2 separate regions of the Homo sapiens genome follow, and region 2 is linked to region 1. The links are contacts of gene promoters, found by promoter capture Hi-C in human tissues and cell types (Jung and others, 2019). All regions are on one chromosome and are shown on one strand. The core of a region is centred on a gene start or on the middle of the fragment in contact, and the rest is flanking DNA. Distances in the headings are between cores, read along the strand shown. Region 1 holds the start of FERMT1 (FERM domain containing kindlin 1). Region 2 has its middle 220 kb from the start of BMP2.

Region 1 (3,761 bases), core at 197-2,696:
CTACTGACTGTATGATGTGCTCTGTGTTAACTCCTGTCTTCTGTTATCCCTTTTTCATCCTCTCAGCAATCTCATTTAGAAATGAGGAAACTCAGCCTCAGAGAGATGAAGCAAGTTGCCTGAGGTCACACAGCAAGTTAGATGCTGGAGCCCAGGTGGAAATCCAGGTCTGCCTTTCTATTTCAAACTCTTATTCACCACACTGGGAAACCACTTTGATAATGTTGCAATGCCAAAATGAAAGAAAACTCCTCAAACTACGTGAACTAAATTCTCAGTAGCCTTTACTAAGCATTTCTATCAACACAAATCTTGCGCAGTGAGGAGACAAAAGATGCCCCTTCATCGTCAAACTCATAACTTGGCATTGAACTGTTCGACTTTAAGATCCTTACAATTTCTTAAATGCTATAATTGTGAAGTCTAGTTATTTAAAATGTTTTGTATATAAAGAAAATAACTTTTAAAGGTGATTCCTTACTGCTTATTTCACTGGGCAATCTGATATAAGGTCTTTTCCTAACTTGGGTGATCAAAACACTACTCATTCAGGCAATAGATGCTGATTCCCCTTACAACAAAATGCAGGCTAAAATTAGCCAAGCTGGTTTTCCTGCATTCCTTTCCTATCTTTCTGTGCCTTCATTTTTGAGTGAACGTCTAGTCTGCAGCAAGCTGTTACTTGTCAAGGATAGCAGCAAACTTCAGCCGGGAAAACGCATCTAAGGAGACCAAAACAAGAAGCAAAGTTACTGGCAGAGTGCTGAAAAGCCCTTCGCAGACAGTCAAAGAAACGAAAGCATGGAGGGATGGAGAGCAGGAAGGAGGAAAGATGAGGGGGAAACAGTCCCCGACCCTTCCCCTGGAATATCTGAAGGTGCTTGGTGTTCGAAGGCCACCCGACCTGTCTTTTGCCAGCTCTGCAGGATCCTGGGGCGGATGTTGGGTGGATAAAGCATGCCCCTTACTCCCATTAAGGCAGCACCTGCGGCTGAACTGAAAGTTTATTTTGCGGCCAGATGCGTAGGGCCGGAGAAGGTGGTCACATCCAGACGAAATTATTTTCAATCAACAGCTATTTAAGTACAAGAGGCTGCAGAAAGAAAGGGGCTAAGGGGGCTCAGGAGCCACTGGTGCCCATGAAAGCCTCCCAACCTCTAGCTCCCCAGCCCTAGCTCCGGAGCACCCACCTCCTTTCCAGGAGCCCGTAGCGTCCAGCCTCGCAGTCGCGCACGTGGAGAGCTGCGTCCCTACAAACTACCCCGGGCCGAGCCGAGGAGCGGGCGCTGGCGAAGTGGGGAGCGGGGGGCGCCCAGTGGCGGCGGCTGCTCAGCTAAGGCTGCGGCAGGTGAGGGCTGGAGCCAGGGCGAGCAGGCGAAGCTGCCTCGGGACCTCCCACGGAGGCTCGGTGCCTGCCCCCAGCCTGGCGCGGCGTGCCCGGTGCACTGCACGGCCCCAGCGGCCCGGCTGAGGGCAGCGCGCAGCGTGGCAGGCGAGGGCACGCCCAGCCCCGGGCCTGCTAGGTCTCGCTCCCGCGGAGAGGAGGCGCAGTCTGCAGATTTTTAAGGGCAAAGGGTGGCCGAAGGGCTGCTCGGCGGAGAGAAGGCGGCGAGAACCCGGGGCGCACGCTCAGTATCTGCAGCTCCTCTTGCGATGTCTCATCCTGACGCTTTAAGGCCGCCTCCAGTTTCCCTGTTCCCCCAGGCCCGCCGGGGACTAGCCCAGATGATTAAAGCCGCGCCACTTCCCCTCCTTTCAGGCATACCCATCACTCACACCCCGGGGTGCGTCCAGGCCCAGGAGACTCCAGCCTCCCGCCTAGAACAGCTGCCTCCCTCAGAAAGAGCCCCGGAGCACTTGTGGTCAGGGAGGTGAAGGCAACGACAAAACGATTCGTCTCTGAGTAAGAGGGTGGTGTCAGTCTCCAGAAGGCTGAGGCTCCCGACCAGGGGAGACTCCAGGAGACCCAAGGGCAGGCTGCATGCGGAAGTCTGGGCCACACCTGGTATGGCTCACCTCAGGATCACCACCGGTCCCGCCAGTCGCCTTCCTGTTGGATTTATTTTCAAAGAGGGCTGGGGCCACCCAGGAAGGGTGGGTGACCTGGGCAGTTTACACAACCTCTCCAAGCCTCCTTTGTTCATTTAATCACATTTGTTGAGTGCTTACTGCTCTACAGGCCTCCCAATGGGCCTGGGCTCAGAGAATACAGTGGTTAATAAAACAGACATGGAAATGACAGTTTCCTCATCTGTGAAATAGGTACAGAGATAGAATGCGTGCTCTTCCACGGAGGGATTTCATGCAATATAGTACAGGCTTTAGCGATTTGCATTAAAAGGCTTGTGAACACTTAAATTTTAATAAAGAAGTTATAAAATTTAGAAGTTGAATCTGTTTTCGCTTAAACATTACCATATTCAGGAATTATTATGGGTTTGAAAGTACATTTAATTTAAAAAGGTTAGTTGAACATTGTTGGCAAATATAGGATATTATAATTGAAATAAAATCATTAAAAACTTGAAACAGAATGTCTTCACTTGGTAGCGTTTGTCAACGATGGGAAGGGTCATCTGGTCCCACTTCCCTACCTCTTAACATCATGAAACCCTGCTTATGGCCCATTAGAACTTAGACTGTGGTCAGTGCGCGCGCGCGCGCGCGCACAAACACACACACACACACACACACACACACACACACACATATATTTTTTTGAGATGGAGTCTTGTTCTGTCCCCAGGCAGGAGTGCAGTGGCACGATCTTGGCTCACTGCTGCACCCTCCGCCTCCCGGGTTCAAGTGATTCTCCTGCCTCAGTCTCCCGAGCAGCTGGGACTACAATTTTTGTATTTTTAGTAGAGACCAGGTTTCATGATGTTGGCCAGGATGGTCTTGATCTCTTGACCTTGTGATCTACCTGCCTCGGCCTCCCAAAGTGTTAAGATTACAGGTGTGATCCACCGTGCCCAGCCTGTGGTCAAGATTTTATGTGTGACCTTGAATTATGGCTCTATCTATTCATACCAATATGGTTTTTCTCTTTTCAATTGAAAATATCTGCATTGTGCTAAAGAATTCGACTGGTTTTAAGCGTTCTTCTTGGCCTAGGTTAATTTTTAAACTTGTAATTTTATGTAGTGACTTGTGTGTATATAAATGTGTATCATATATATACACACCCATACATATACACAATATATATAGATAAGAGCACAAATCGTGAATGTATAGCTGATGAGTTTTCGCAAACTGAACACACCTGTATACAGAGTATATAAAGACACTAGCGTATAAAGAGTGCCCAGTTGAAGAAACAGGACATCACCAGTCCTCGGAAGCCCGTTAGTGACCCCTTTTAGTTATTCCTTTCAGTTATGATCACTGCCGCTGCCTGCCCCTACCCCCGACCCCAGGCCCAGGATAACCATTATCTTATCTTCTAACTCCTCAGAAGGGTTTTGCCTGTCTTTGTACTTTATATAAATGGAATCAGACCATGTGCACTATTTTGTGTCTGGCTTCTTGTGTTCAACATTATGTTTGTGAGTTTTATCCATATTATGTGTCCTAGGCTTTTTTTTTTTTTTTTTTTTTTGAGAAAGGGTCTTGCTCTCCCCCAGGTCAGAGTGCAGTGGCATGATCATGGCTCACTGCAGCCTTGATGTCTCAGGCTCCCAAGCTGGGACTACAGGTGTGAACCACCGTGCCTGGCTAATTTTTAAATTTAGCTGCCTGAGCTGGTCTTGAACTCCTGG
Region 2 (3,778 bases), core at 454-2,953, 860 kb after region 1:
TCATAAAACAAGTTGTTAGAGACCTATAAAGAGACTTGGATAATCACACAAAAATAGTGGGGTACTTCAGCATCTCACTGACAGTATTAGACAGATTACTGAGGCAGAAAATTAACAGACATTTAGGACCCGAATTTGACATTTAACCAAATGGACCTAACAGACATCCACAGAACTCTCTACCCTCAAATTCCAGAATATTCGTTCTTCTCATCTGTACATGGCACATACTCTAAAATTGACCACACAATTGTTCATAAAATAATCCTCAGCAAATTTTTAAAAAATGAAAATATATTAACCATGTTCTCAGACAACAGCACAATAAAAACTGAAATCAATACTAACAAATAGCTCAAAACAATATAATTACATAGAAATTAACCAGCTCCTGAATGACTTGTGTGTAAACAATAAAATTAAGGTAGAAACCAAACTAATGCAGGAAGAGAAAATTCTTAGAAACTAATGAGAACAAAGATACAACATAACAGAATCTGTGGGATGCTAAAGCAGTGTCAAGAGGGAAGTTTATAGTGCTAAACACTTACATCAAAAAATTAGAAAGATCTCAAATTAACAACCTAACATCACATCTAGAGAAACTGGAGAAACAAGAGAAAACCAACCCCAAAGCTTGTGGAAAGCAGTTTTGAGGCTTTTCTCAAAAGAACTTATAACAATTGGCTGGGTGCGGTGGCTCACGCCTGTAATTCCAGCACTTTGGGAGGCCAAGGTGGGCAGATCACCTGAGATCAGGAGTTCGAGACCAGCCTGACCAATATGGAGAAACACCGTCTCTACTAAAAATACAAAATTAGCTGGTCACTGTGGTGCATGCCTGTAATCCCAGCTACTAGGGAAGCTGAGGCAGGAGAATCACTTGAACCCAGGAGGCGGAGGTTTTGGTGAGCTGAGATTACGCCATTGCGCTACAGCCTGGGCAACAACAGTGAAACTCTGTCTCAAAATAAAGAAACAAAAACAAAAGCAAAAACAAAATTACTATTTGACCCATCAATTTCATTACTGGGTGTGTATTCAAAAGAAAATAAATTGCTTTACCGATAAGACACACGCACTTGTGTGTTCATTGCAGCACTATTCAGAAGAGCAAAGAGCAAAGACATGGAATCAACCAAGGTGCCCATTAACAGTGGATTGGGTAAAGAAAATGTGTACATACACACCATGAAATACTACACAGCCATAAAAAAACAACAAGATCTTGACCTTTTCAGGAAAATCGATGCAGTGGGAGGCCATTATCCTAAGCAACCTAACACAGGAAGAGAAAACCAAATACTGCATATTCTCACTTATAAGTGGGAGCTAAACACTGAGTATCCTTGGACACAAATACGGGAACAACAGACACTGGGGCGTACTTGAGGGTGGAGGTTGGGAAGAGGGTGAGGGTCAAAAAACCGCCACCACTATGCTTATTCCCTGGGTAATGAAATAATCTGCCCAGCAAACCCCTGTGACACGCAGTTTACCTATATAGGAGATCTGCACATGTACATTGAACCTAAAATAAAAGTTAAAAACAAAAAAAGCCAGTCACAAAAGTTAAAGAAACAAAAAGTTCAGGTTAAAGATAAAATTTTGAGAAAAAAACTGGGCCTTTAAACATTTAGGGATGGTGGTGGGCAAGGCTATCTTGCTAGGAGAAGGAAAGTAAAAAGTACAGCTTGAACTATAAGAGCAAAAAGGGTATGGGCATTAACAGAAAATGAATGCTTTTATTTCCAAATGGTAGAATAGATAAAGCATTTTTTGACATCTTCTCCACAGGTTGTCAAAAAGTAAAAAAAAAAAAAAAAAAAAAATAGTGGGAAATTTTGTGTATTAGTTCATTATTGCATTGCTTTAATAAAATACCTGAGACTGGGTAACTTATTAAGCAAAGACATTTAACTGTCTCACAGTTCTGCAGGCTTTACAGGGAGCATGGTGCTGGCATCTGCTCAGCTTCTGGTGAAGCCTCAGGGAGATCTCAATCATGGCAAAAGGCAAAGCAGGAGCAAACACATCACATGGCAAGAACAGCAGTGGGGGCCGGGTAGGTGCCACACACTTTTCAACCACTAGATCTCGTGAGAACTCACTAACACAAAGATAGCACCAAGACATGAGGGATCCACCCTTGTGATCCAAACACTTCCCACTCCTAATACCTGCAAGAGCCTTGGAAGTTTATTCTCTAGAGAAATTGGACTAGAAAAATCTCAGTGATTAGGAATGAGGAGCCCCGAAGAGGATAAGCTGGAGGTTTTGTGTTGATTATAATACCATGAAGTAGAAGTCTTTAAATCAAAAGGTGAGAACTACCTTTCCTGCCTGTAGTCCTGCCTTTAGATATACCCCTTCCCAGACATAACATTGGAGGTTAATTTTGTGGAGCACCAAAATGATCTACAGAAAGAATACCAGGAGATTCATAGTTTTGAGCTAGCAGCAAAGATGCTAGTATCTCTACTTGGTTCTATGCAAAGATGCAGCCATCTTTTCATCTAATCACCTGAGAGTCAACCTCCCCTATGTACAAACCCCACAAACATAAATAAAGCTTCCATTCAACTATTTGTTGTTTTACTGTTAAGTAAATGGATGAACAAGCAACATCAGCCATTTGAGGAAATCCTACTACAGGGAAGATATGGAACATAACAAACAAGAACAAAGAAGTCTGAAAAAGAAGACGTAATATAGGGAAGAAAAGACTGCTTTAAAGAAATTCTTATTAATCATGTTAAAAAGATATATAAAGATATTATAACCATTGCATATTAAAATGTTGTCAAAATGGAACAAAGAATAGAATGAGATCTTGTAAATTAATAATAGGATTAAAATTTTAAAAAAAGAAGTTTTGGAAAATAAATTTGAGGGAAATGTCCAAATTATAGAAATAAAAAGAAAATGAGATGTGTTATAGCAGTTATAAGAATACTATCAGATGATTCTAGGTGACCTAATACGCAGTTACTAAGTGTTTGAAAAGATGAGAACAGAAAAAATAGGGAGGAGGACATTATCAACAAAATAATGTAAGAAAATTTGTCAGGTACTAGCCATGAGTGGTAGCACACACCTCTAATTCCAGCTACTCAGGAGGCTGAGGTGAGAGGATCGCCTGAGTCCAGGAGTTCAAGAAGCCAGCCTAGCAACAATAGCAAGAATCTTTCTCTCAAAAATATAAAATTAAATTAAAAAAAAGAAAATTTGTCAGTGCTAAGGGCATTGAACTTTTCCACCAAGTATTCACTACAGTGAATAAAAAAGTGACTCCACCAAAGCAACTTTATCATGATAATTTTATGAAACAAGTGATAAAGAGAAAATTGTAATAACCTCCAGGGGCTGAAGAAATGAGAACATAACAAAGAATAAAGTGTAGGAATGGTATCAGAGAGCAACTAGAATGCACTGGAATAGGTCTTCAAAACTTTTAGTGAAAATGATTCCTCAAACCATAATTGTATACCTAGCAAAACTTTCGTTCCAGTGTTAGGACAGAGTAAAGTCATTTTTAGACATACAATGTCCCAAAATAATCCTCCCTCACCCAACCAAGCACTCAATCTCAGGAAACTCCCAGAAAATATATTTCAACAAAATAAACAAATAAGACAGAGGCATATTGGGATCCAAGGAATCATATGTAAGAGAAGCAAATAGAATTTACAACATGAAGAAAAAGGAACTTTCTGCATGACAGGTGTTTTGGCCTAGAGAGCAAATAGTCCAGAATGAAACAGGATGTTGAAGGCCT

Evidence for each region. Contacts are between HindIII fragments. The study calls those that stand out against the background at their distance.
Region 2: a contact is called between a fragment that was not itself captured here and the fragment with the promoter of FERMT1 in region 1, in 1 of the 25 tissues and cell types used here (mesenchymal stem cells).

What each region holds. Positions count from the first base shown.
Region 1 is chr20:6,121,584-6,125,344 of GRCh38, forward strand. It overlaps FERMT1 (FERM domain containing kindlin 1), which reads right to left and starts at 1,447. Exons shown (of 15, transcript NM_017671.5): 1 at 1,191-1,447. RefSeq lists a silencer at 1,333-1,452. The HindIII fragment of the contact is 15,378 bases long and covers 1-3,761 here.
Region 2 is chr20:6,985,379-6,989,156 of GRCh38, forward strand. No RefSeq gene overlaps it. Among named protein-coding and RNA genes, the nearest start is that of BMP2, 220 kb to the left of the region's middle. The HindIII fragment of the contact is 4,686 bases long and covers 1-3,778 here.